Linked DNA regions of Homo sapiens: regions 1, 3 and 4 are each linked to region 2. Evidence: promoter capture Hi-C in 16 types of primary human blood cells and fetal thymus (Javierre and others, 2016). All regions are on one chromosome and are shown on one strand. Each heading gives the region's core, a stretch centred on a gene start or on the middle of the fragment in contact. The rest is flanking DNA. Distances are from core to core; before and after follow the strand shown. Region 1 overlaps PAX5 (paired box 5). Region 2 holds the start of TOMM5 (translocase of outer mitochondrial membrane 5). Region 3 has its middle 97 kb from the start of ALDH1B1. Region 4 overlaps LOC107987065 (a long non-coding RNA gene).

Region 1 (2,868 bases), core at 255-2,754, 730 kb after region 2:
TGTGGCATTAGGATAGAAAGGGCCAGAGGTGTCCACTCAGTGGGAAGGTCAGTCTTACAGTAAATCCTTGCAACAGCCTCTTTCCTGGTCTCCCCATTGCCAGTCATGACCCTTTAGTCTATTCACAACAACGTGGCTGCAGTGAGCCTGTGAAAATTGGAGTCAGGACACGTCCCTCCTGTGCACACTCAGAGTAGAGGCCAAAGTCCTGACCTATCTCCCACTCCCCACTTCCCTCCCTGGCCTTCTCTCCCCTCTCCCCACCCTGGCTTCTCTCCAGCCACATAGGCCTCCTGGCTGTCCTAGCCACACACCTCCCACACTCCTGCCCCAGGGCCTTTGCACTTGCTGTTCCTTCTGCTTAGAGGGCCCTTCCCACAGATATTCATATGGCAAACTCTTGCTACCTTCATTCTTTCTTCAAAAGTCACCTTTTCAGTGGAGTCATCCCCGGTCACTCCATCTAAAATTCCACCTCCTCCCAATATTTCTTATTCTGTCTCCTGCTTCATGTTTTCTCTTTAGCACCCATCATTATCTAGCATGCCGGACGCTTTGTTTTTACTTGTCTGGTTTACTGTTTTGTTTGTACCACTGGAATATAAGCTCCATGAGGGCAGGGACTGTTATCTGCTTTGTTCAGGGCTATATCCTCAGGACCTGGTACCTAGTAGGCCCTCAATCAGTATCTGATAGATGAATGGATGGATGAAATTGCGACTGTCTGCAGTGGGCCTGGTACCTAGTAGGCCCTCACTCAATATCTGATAGATGAATGGATGGATGAAATTGCGACTGTCTGCAGTGGACCTGGTGTCAAGGCAGATGCCACCAGGGCTCCTCAGGACATCTCTGGGCCCCTCCCACTGAGCCCTGCATTTGCCCTCTTAGGTGGTTTCTTCACTTATCTTTCCTTGGCCTCCCAAGATATCTTTCCTCCCCTCCTCTTCCCTCCCCTCCCCTCCTGCTGACTCCCTCCCTGCAGAGCCATCTCTCAGCCAGGTGTGTGGGCTGGTCACAGGGGATACATATGAAAGTGTAAATCTCCTAGAAAAAAATGGGTCTTCATCAGCACAGGACTGCATGGGGCTCCTGCCTTCTGGTCCAGCCTTGGGAGCTGTGAGGGTCATCCTAATTCAGCTCCCTCCATGGAATGGCCCTGTCAAGCTCACTGAGTCATGGTGGCGGCTGCCTTGTGGCCTGCCTGGAGTCTCCCATAGAAGCCAGCCCTTCTCAGTGGTTAGCTTATGGTGGCTGCCTGCTTAGAAGCCAGTCTCCTTAGGGGCCCCATTTCAGAGGCCGTGGGAACTGGACACCAGCATGCCTCTGAGGACGCTAGCGAAACTCTTTAACAAGGATCAGTGCTTCTCAAGCTTTATTGCACCCAAATCATCAGGGATCATCTCAGAGAGCAGATTCTGCTTCATAGAGTTGAGGGTGGGTGCAGGAGGCTTGTCCTCTAACATGCTGCACACTGAGTACCGAGTCCCTGCCCCCTGTCTCTCAAACTTGCTGTACATTGGCGTCACCTTGGAAGTTTCGACAAATATTACCATCTGCCTCCCCCCGCTTACTCCGAGCTCCCTGTGAACTAGTATGAGATATGGCCTGGTCATCTGGATTTTTAAAGCTTCCCAGATGATTTTTTTTTCTTTTTTGAGACAGTCTTGCTCTGTCACCCAGGCTGGAGTGCAGTGGTGCAATCTTGGCTCACTGCAACTTCTGCCTCCTGGGTTCAAGTGATTCTCCTCCCTCAGCCTCCTGAGTAGCTGGGATTACAGGCATGTGCCACCACGCCCGGCTAATTTTTCTATTTTTAGTAGAGATAGGATTTCACCATGTTGGTCAGGCTGGTCTCGAACTCCTGACCTCGTGATCTACCCGCCTCAGCCTCCCAGAATGCTGGAATTACAGGTGTGAGCCACTATGCCCGGCCCCCAGATGATTTTTTTTTTTTTGAGACAGAGCCTCACTCTGTCACCCAGGCTTGAGTGCAGTGGCGTGATCTCAGCTAACTGCAAGCTCCACCTCCCGGGTTCACACCATTCTCCTGCCTCAGCCTCCTGAGTAGCTGGGACTACAGGTGCCCACCACCATGCCTGGCTAATTTTTTTGTATTTTTAGTAGAGGTGGGGTTTCACCGTGTTAGCCAGGATGGTCTCGATCTCCTGACCTCGTGATCCACCTACCTCGGCCTCCCAAAGTGCTGGGATTACAGGTGTGAACCACTACACCCAGCCCCAGATGATTCTTAATGTGCAGCAAGGCTTGACAGCCACTGGCCTGGGTCACTGCATTATTCCTGCCCGCCTCCACCTCCCCTCAGGGCAGCTTTGCTGTAGGAGAGCAGTAAAACTTACAGGAATTTGCGGACACAGTGAGGAAGGGTGAGGAGCCGGGGAGGGAGGAGGGGGCACATCCCACTCTCAGTCAGCCTTGGGAGAGAGAACCCCAAAGGAATGAATGTCGGGTGCAGACGCTGAAGGAGAGGGGCCACTGAGACCCTGAGGCTGGCAGGGGGAGGGAGGGAGAGGCCCTGGGAGCTTTTTCAGCCAGAGGAGTGACCAGGAGAGCCGAAGCAGCTGGGTGGTCCAGCCTGGGTCTTTGGCTTCTTCCTTGACCCTGACTCTGTTAGGAGAAATAACTCTCCCTTCCCTACTTCAGCCCGGCCCGGCTTTCATACCTGTACAAACACACTGGCCCCAGCCTCCCAGGGTTGCAAGTAATTTATGTGCGCGCCTGCCCCTCCCGCAGACTGTGGGCTCTCCGTGGGCAGGGACCGTGTCTGATTCATCTCCGCCTCTTCCAGCCCCAGGCCTGGCTTGCCGGGGGCAGGAAGGGTGTGCAGAATTGAGCGCGCTCCTCGGG
Region 2 (2,851 bases), core at 309-2,808:
TCTTGACTCTAGCGATGTCCATCCATGTGGGCACTAACTGTTAAAGACTAACAGATGAGCAGTAGGGTGCAGGGGAAAGATAATTCAACTTGACATGATAATTATCTGCATTAGAACCCTGCCCGTGCATCACCAGCAGAATGACTAGACTTTAGTGCACTTTAGACTTCAGCTGCGATGTTCCAGATAAAGGGCTTCACACCAAAGCTGGACTTGGTTTCTGAGCCTCTTTCTATTCATCTGTAAAATGCTGATCAGATTTGAACTTGCTTTATACATATTGTGTTACTTGGCTAACAGTATTTTAAAGACCTCTGTGCTTCAATAATCTGTAAAAAGGCCAGGTGCGGTGGCTCATGCCTGTAATCACGGCACTTTTGGGGGCCGAGGTGGGCAGATCACCTGAGATCAGGAGTTTCCAAGACCAGCCTGGCCAACATGGTGAAACCGCGTCTCTACAAAAAATACAAAATTTAGCCAGGCGTGGTGCTGCGCAACCGTAATCCCAGCTACTCAGGAGGCTGAGGCAGGAGAATCACTTGAACCTGGGAAGCAGCGGTTGCAGTGAGCTGAAATTGCGCCACTGCACTCCAGCCTGGGCGGCAGAGCGAGACTCTGTCTCCAAAAAAAAAAAAAAAAAAAAAAAAGTTTCATCTTTGTCTCTTTGTTTTAACTTATGTAAAGTTTCAAACATACTCAAGAAAGACTAGAATAATTAACTAAAATGAAGTACTAGTCACCAGCAGTTTTTAATATTTTGCTGACATCACTTATCTCTCTCAATACTTTTTTCCCCCTCTGAGGTATTTTTAAGCACATTTGGGGGCCAGGCGCGATAGCTCACGCCTGTAATCCCAGCACTTTGGGAGGCCGAGGCGGGAGGATCGCTTGGATCCTGGAACCCAGGAGTTCCAGAACAGTCTCAACCACCACAATTAGCAATAAAAAAATAAATAAAAATTAAAGCACATTTGGGCAAGATGTTTTAAAGATCTCTGTGCTTCAATTGTCTAATCTAGGAAACGAAGATTATAATATCGAATTCACGGGGGACAATTATATTGAATATTCAATAAATGTTAGTTATCACTGTTTACAGTGGTACCTATGTGCACAGCCCCCTCCAGCGCGTAAAAGCACTTTACAGCGCAGCGCTCCAGGCTCAAGATAGATGTTATTGTTGTTGTTATTATTATTATTATTATTATTATTTTGAGACGGAGTCTCGCTCGCTCTGTCGCCCAGGCTGGAGCGCAGTGGCGCGATCTCGGCTAACTGCAACATCCCCCTCCTGGGTTCAAGCGATTTTCCTGCCTCAGCCTCCCGAGTAGCTGGGATTGTAAGCACGCGCCACCGAGCCGGGCTGATTTTTGTATGACAGATGTTATTAAAGACAGCGTGGAGAAACCAGAGCCTGCGTTGCTGAGCTTGCGGCCGCCCGCTTCACACCGCACTTCAGATCAGCTGGGTCAGGACGTGGATTGTCCCGTGCAGGCATCCATCGTCGAGTGTGGCAACGAGAGGGCGGGAACAGGAAGTGAGGATAGGCCGAGTTCCGGGCGCGAGGCGGCCACCGTGGAGAGCAGAGCGCGGCGGCTGGAAGCTGCTAAGTCAGAGCCGCGATGTTCCGGATTGAGGGCCTCGCGCCGAAGCTGGACCCGGAGGAGATGAAACGGAAGATGCGCGAGGATGTGATCTCCTCCATACGGAACTTTCTCATCTACGTGGCCCTCCTGCGAGTCAGTGAGTGTCTCCCGGGCTGTGACTGTGAGACCAGCGGGGAGCTCACCGACGGGCACCCCTTAACTCTAAGGGGTCATCGGGGCCTTCGAACTGAGCTGAACGGTAGCGGGGAGCAAGGAGGGTGCGCGTTGAAGGCGACGGGCATATGCGCGGTTTGAGGTCTGCGGGTCAGGGTCCGGGCACTGAAGTGCACGTGGTGGCCGGCGCGCGTGTTTAATCATCCTGGTTCTCCCAGCTTGAAGAATGTTTGAGCTGCCGGGCGCGTTGGCTCACACCTGTAATCCCACCCAGCACTTTGTGAAGCCGAGGCGGGCGGATCATTTGGGGTCAGGAGTTCGTGGTGGCGGGCGCCTGTAATCCCAGCTCCTCGGGAGGCTAAGGTGGGAGGATTGCTTGAATCCAGGAGGCGGAGGTTGCAGTGAGCCGAGATCGCGACACTGCACTCCAGCTTGAGTGACAGAGCAAGACTCCATCTCAAAAAAAAGAATGTTTGAGCTGAAAGAGCTCAAGTAATTATCCCTAGAGGAACTCCCTCGTTTTTGCAGACAGAGAAACAGAGAAACAGAACCATAGTTCTAGAAGGAAGAAACAGCCTTCTTGGGAAGGCTGGCCAAAGGTCACTCAGCGATTCAGTGAATGATCTTGACCTAAAATCCAGAACTCTTAACTCAGTACCAGGTTCCTTCCCTTTCTTTTCTTTTCTTTTTTTTTTTTTTCCTCGATACACAGTCACGCCCTGTTGCCCAGGCTGGAGTGCAGTGGCGCAGTCTTGGCTCACTGCAACCTCTGCCTCCCGAGTTCAAGCCATTCTCCCACCTCAGCCTCCCAAGTAGCTGAGATTACAGGCGCGCGCCACCACGCCCGGCTAATTTTTGTATTTTTAGTAGAGATGGGTGTTTAACCATGTTGGCCAGGCCGGTCTCGAACTCCTGACCTCAGGTGATCCACCTGCCTCAGCCTCCCAAAGTGCTGGGATTACAGGCGTGAACCAGCGGCCGGGTTCCTTCCCTTTCAAAAGTGCTGACCTTTGAAATCCAAAAAGTTTTGCTTCATTTCTGTTTCTTTGTATAGAGGGTGAAGTGAGTCATTAGTTTTTTGGAAAAAAATG
Region 3 (2,909 bases), core at 58-2,557, 700 kb before region 2:
TCCCCTTGACATCTCCTTAAATGTGTGTGTAATAAAACACCAGAGCAATAAGGTAACCAGCCCAAAGTCACACAGCCGGGATCCGGCCAGGCCAAATTGGAACCTGAGTCTGCAAATTCCTAATCCCAGTTCTGCCTCTTTCCTACCAGTGGAACTTGGCTGGTCTCTTCTATCCCAAAGACCCCACAGTTTTCTTTTCTTCATGACGAGAGGGTCATGCCAGATCAGTTCTTGACCTTTGAGAATTGATGAAAGCAATGAACTGTAACCCCTTTGTGTGTGCTGGAAATGCACACATGCACAGAAACGTTTACACATAATTTCATGGGTTCACAGACCCCATAAAACCCAGCCACAGATTAAGAGGCCCTAAACTCCCCAAAGGCCTTGCCAGCTCTCATAGTCTCTGGATGGTTTATGTTTCACCCACTGACACTGGTTTTATGAAGTGGCAAAATTTTTTCCACTCATTTTTCAAAGTCTCAGCCTCACCTCCTCTCCCCAGCCCAGTTGGAAGCAGTTTCTCCCTGCAGTGAAACCCTATTAGCCCCCAGACCCCAGAGCCCTGCCAGAATGTGGCTGTCACACTGAGTCCCAGTCCTGATTTATTCTCCATGGTGTCTCTCTGGATGAGAAGTTATGCATAACAGCAGGACTCAGCCCCTGATAGAAGAAATGGCCAAGTTCAATCCTTAACAAATAAAAGCACTGCCGTTCAGTAATTCCCAGGGTTGATGGAAAATGTGATTTCCTTGCCACAGCAAATGTGGAAGGCGGGAGATGTAAAGATGCTCCCACTTTGGTCTATGGAAGAAACCGTAACAACATAAATCAGTGAGATAGATAACCTTCTCCTCTATTCATTATCTGGGCAGGCCAGAGCTAATGTGTTTGTTTTTTAAATCCTCTGTTGTCAGCCACCCTTCCCCCTCAAGGATGCCTGCACTTTTCTGAAACCCACGAGGAGCATTGCAGCAAAGAAATAGAACTTTCAGTTTCTGGAGATTATACTGATTCTCCAGGATCTTAAAGGTTAGGCTGAGAACTTTATCCTGTGGGTCAGTGAGTTTTATCTAGGGGCATCTAGGTGCAGACCCCTGATGAAGCAGCTGCTGAGGGTGTTAGAACCAGGGTCTCATGCTAGAAAGATCATTCTGGCTCTGGATGGGAGCCCATCAGAGGGGCCAAGAGGGATAGGGGTACAGGCAGGTAGGGGGCTGTGGGAGAAGCCTGATGCAGTCAGGGGAGAGGGTTGAGAAGTCTAGGGAGATGTCTCCTCTTGTTCCCTATTGTTTCCACAATGGGGATGGCAGTGTGCTCACTAAAACTAGATGCAGATAAGACACTGCCCCTCTGAAGGTAGGAGCGTCCAAGGAGATGAAAGGGGAAGCAGTTGGGCGGAGCTTCTTGGAAGACGCTTTAGAAGAGGCTTCTAAACCAGTGGTGTCTTTTTGCCCTTCTCCATGTCTTTTTTCTTCCTGTCTAGAATGCAGATGAGATGGCCAGTGCTACAGCTGCCTTCTTGCAACCACAAGGGAAAGGCTAAGAGAACCAGAGACTTCAGCTAGGACATGCTTAAGCTGCTGAGTCAATGCAAGACACTGCCTGCTTCTAGACTCATTATGTGAGAAAAATCCCTGCAGGGCATCAAGTGGAGAAGTTACGTAGGTAGGTGGATTAATACATCTGGCACTCTGGAGAGTCATCACATGGGGTTAATGGAAGACACGAGGGTGGGCAAGATGGTGCAGGGAGTGGATAGATTAGATAGATAGATAGATAGATAGATAGATAGATAGATAGATAGATAGATGATAGATGATAAATAGATGAATAGACAGATGTTGATTGATTGATAGACGAATGGATAGACAGGTGATAGAGATGAATGAATGAATAAATGAATAGATAGATAATAAATGAATGGGTAGGTAAATAATAGATAGACATAGATAATATAGATGGATGATAGCTGATATAGATACTAGATGATGGATGAACGGATAGATTATATAGACAGATAATAGATGGATGAATATATGATAGATGATATTGATAGATGATAGAAGATATTGATAGAGGATAAATGATAGAGAAAGTGAGAGAGAGAGAGGATAGATAGAAAAGAAGATGGTCCTGGAGAACACCAATCTTCAAGGAATAGGCTGAGGAAAACGTGTCTGCAGAGATAAAACAGCCAGAAAAAGAGAGTACATTTGGATACTGTGGAGTCCCAGGAGCAAGGGAGGATATGGACTCTGGTAGTGGTGAGTGGTCAACAGTACAAATGACAGAGAGGGCCAGAGGCTGACACCAGAGAAAGGGACTTGGCAGTGATCCCAACAAGGACTAAAGGGAGAGCCCTGATAATTCCACCCTGAAATGTCAGTGCTGGTCTGTCCAAGGGTTCTACTGTACCCTCCAGGCCCTCTCTGTGGGGCTGTGGGCACAGGATGGTGGCTACCAGAAGTCCACATAGAGAACAAGAAAATGCAGAGGGAATACTTCCTTACCCCACTGCCTTGACTGGGATCTTTTTGGACATGGTTACTGTGACATGCTTCTCCCTGTTTCCAGCCTATGTTCAGATGTGCTTGTTGACCTTGTTAGATTTGATTCTTCTTTGCTCAGAGGGTGTGTGGCTTGGGTGTTCAACACCAGCTCTGTCCCAGTGCTCTGTGGGGCTTTAGGCAACTGGTTCAGCAAGTTGAAGGCAGAGCTCAGGCCTTCTGATTCCAAATTCTTCAGACCACCAAACCCACGTGTGGAATATTTCCTAAGTCTGGGTTTTAACGAGCACATCAAAATTGGCATGCCGCCGACAGTTTGCTGGCTTGGAGAGGGAACCAGGATATTTTTTGCAAATTGGGTACTCTATCATGTAGAAAAACTTCTTTTCAGGAGGTAAA
Region 4 (2,700 bases), core at 13-2,512, 770 kb before region 2:
CCCACTGTGCCCACTCTGACTTCTAAGGGATGACACTACTCCACATTCAGCCTCTGCTGCCCAGGCCTCCGTGTTCTTGCTCCAGGCTGGCTTTACAGGTATGAGACCTCTGCAGTTGTACAGGCACTTGATTTTTATGCTCTACTGTGGCTGTCTTGAAATTCCTAGTAATTTGGCCAGGCATGGTGGCTCACACCTGTAATCCCAGCACTTTGGGAGGCCAAGGTCGGCGGATCACCTGAGGTCAGGAGTTTGAGACCATCCTGGCCAATGTGGTGAAACCCCGTCTCTACTAAAAACACAAAAATTAACCAGGCACGATGGCGCACGCCTGTATTCCCAGCTACTTGAGAGGCTGAAGCAGGAGAATCACTTGAACCCAGAAGGCGGAGGTTGCAGTGAGCTGAGATCATGCCACTACATTCCAGCCTGGGCAACAGAGTGAGACCTGGTCTCAAAAGAAAAAAAAAATTCTTAATAATTTTACCCTTCAACCTGCTTTGTAGTGAAGTCTGATAGTACAATGGAGCCTGCACGTGAGCAGAGGATATATGCCAGGTGGTAAGGCATGCATGCGTGGGCTCAGGTCTGCAGGGACAGTGTACACTGTGCAGATCAAGCAGTTGGCCTTGCCACCTGAAGTGCATACACACTACACTTGGGGTGTGTCCAGGGTGTGGTAGGACCCTGAGGGGTGGCCAGGCCCAGGACCTGGGCTCATATTGGTGGCAGTGGTGGCAGGAGTCAGGCCCCAGGAGAGAGGAGATGTGGCTACACTGCAAACAAACCACCCTTGATGGCGAGTGAGCTCTTTGCCCTGCAGCAATATCATCAAGCCAGGTACCTAGGAGAGACTGAATGATGAGCTGCTTCCTTTCCAAGGGTGACCACCAGCAGGAGAATGTGCTATTGAGTGACTAACGTTATTTTCAGTTGTGTCCACTGAAAAATGGGGTTAGAAGTATAAATTTTGATGACCTAAAAAATGAATTTGTAGAAAAATGAGTCAAAGAAAGCTTATAATCAATCAAGATATTACTAAAGTATTATTGAAGGATATAGAAAAGAAGAAATAAGCAACTCCATAGACTCAAAACCTCAAAAACTACTACTATTTGGGTGTATTTCTCTCTAGATTTTGCTGTGCATATTTTGACACAATTTGAATAACATATATTCCATCAAGTGAATATACCATATTTGCTTTCCTTGACATTTATGTGGTTTCCAATTTTTTATATTAAGACTTTGCTTTACATCCTTGTGCATAATTGTACTTTTAAATAAACTGTTTCATTTCAAAAAAGCATAAAGTTTTTCATGAATTTCAAGTAATTTTTAAACCCAGAATCTCTGTTCTTTTTTCTCTATGGTCTTCTTAGGTGAGCCATTCACTCATGTGTTTGGTTATTTCAGTACTGACTTCTCCTTAACTTTATAATAATCAAATTTAATAGCTTAGATGAAATGGACAAATCCTTTGGAAGATGCAAACTACCCAAGCTTCACTCAGGAAGAAATAGATAACAACAATAACCCTATATCTATTAAACAAATTGAATTTAAGATTGAAAAGCTTCCAACAAAGGGAACTCCAGACTCAGATGGCTTTACTGGTGAATTCTAATACCAAGTCATTTGAGGAAGAAATAATGCCAGTTCTACACAAACTCTTACAGAAAATAGAAGAGGAGGAAACACTTCTCATTTTATAAGGCTGACATTTCCCTGATACCAAAAGCAGACAAAGACTCTCCAAAAAAAGGAGAAAACTACAGTCTAAAATTCTTTATGAATATAGATGCAAAAATCCTCAACAAAATATTATCAAAGCAAATTCAGCCGTGAACACAAAGAATAATTCATAATTGCCACATTGGGAAATAAACTAAATGTCTTTCAACTGGTGAATAAATAAGCAAACTGTGGTGCATTTATGCAATGGAATACTGCTCAGCAATAAAAAGGAAGACTCAAAAGGCTTCATACTGTAGTCCGCTATTTATATGACATTCTGGAAAAGGCAAAATTATAGGATCAGAAAATAGATGATTGATTGCCAGGATGGGGAGAAGGATGTCGATGGAGGCACATGCATAAGGGAATTTTTTGAGGTGATAGCATGGCTCTGTATCTTGATTGATGTAGTGGTCACATGACTGTATGTGTCAAAACTCACAGAACTGTATACCAAAAAGCATACATTGTATTATATGTAAATTATATGTAAATACAACATGCAAATAATACCTCATTTTAGTATATGTAAAGAATACCTTAATTTAAAAAAGAATTAAAAGGCCATCTATGCTTCCATTTATGATGTCCTGGAAAAGATAAAACTAAAGGGACATAAAATAGACCAGGATTGTAGGAGTTGGGGTGGAAAGAGGGGTCTGATTACAAAGAGGCAGGAAGCAGCACTTGGGGTGATGGAAATATGCTATGTCTTGATTATGGTGGTGGTTAAAGGCTGTGTGTGTTTCACAGATCTGTATACCTCAAGCTGGTGAATTTTAGTATATGTAAAACCTTAATACATCTAACTTTAAAAAGTCTTATGCCCCGGATCTCACATGACTGCTTGGTTTATCTATGGCAGCAATCCTTAAAAGGACATATGTATACATTTTTCTCAAGGCATTTATTTATGTCAAATTATCATCAAATGCCCTGCCTCCAGATCTCAGTTTTCTAATC

What was found. Contacts are between HindIII fragments. The CHiCAGO score rates a contact against its expected background, and 5 or more counts as called.
Region 1: a contact is called between a fragment that was not itself captured here and the fragment with the promoter of TOMM5 in region 2, in 1 of 17 cell types (naive B cells). The highest score is 5.1, in naive B cells.
Region 3: a contact is called between a fragment that was not itself captured here and the fragment with the promoter of TOMM5 in region 2, in 1 of 17 cell types (M2 macrophages). The highest score is 5.9, in M2 macrophages.
Region 4: a fragment that was not itself captured here is called in contact with the fragment with the promoter of TOMM5 in region 2 in 1 of 17 cell types (M2 macrophages); the score reaches 6.4 in M2 macrophages.

Annotation. Positions count from the first base shown.
Region 1 is chr9:36,859,125-36,861,992 of GRCh38, reverse strand. The region is part of intron 8 of PAX5 (paired box 5); the gene reads left to right. Among named protein-coding and RNA genes, the nearest start is that of MIR4540, 3.7 kb to the left of the region's middle. The HindIII fragment of the contact is 257 bases long and covers 1,376-1,632 here.
Region 2 is chr9:37,591,304-37,594,154 of GRCh38, reverse strand. TOMM5 (translocase of outer mitochondrial membrane 5) reads left to right here and starts at 1,558. Exons shown (of 2, transcript NM_001001790.3): 1 at 1,558-1,743. The coding sequence starts at 1,623. RefSeq lists a silencer at 1-243 and an enhancer at 1,202-1,961. The HindIII fragment of the contact is 19,627 bases long and covers 1-2,851 here.
Region 3 is chr9:38,294,664-38,297,572 of GRCh38, reverse strand. No RefSeq gene overlaps it. Among named protein-coding and RNA genes, the nearest start is that of ALDH1B1, 97 kb to the left of the region's middle. The HindIII fragment of the contact is 3,642 bases long and covers 1-2,909 here.
Region 4 is chr9:38,365,121-38,367,820 of GRCh38, reverse strand. The region is part of intron 1 of LOC107987065 (a long non-coding RNA gene); the gene reads right to left. It overlaps LOC105376040 (a long non-coding RNA gene), which reads left to right. Exons shown (of 4, transcript XR_929605.1): 3 at 1-98. Among named protein-coding and RNA genes, the nearest start is that of ALDH1B1, 26 kb to the left of the region's middle. The HindIII fragment of the contact is 487 bases long and covers 1,019-1,505 here.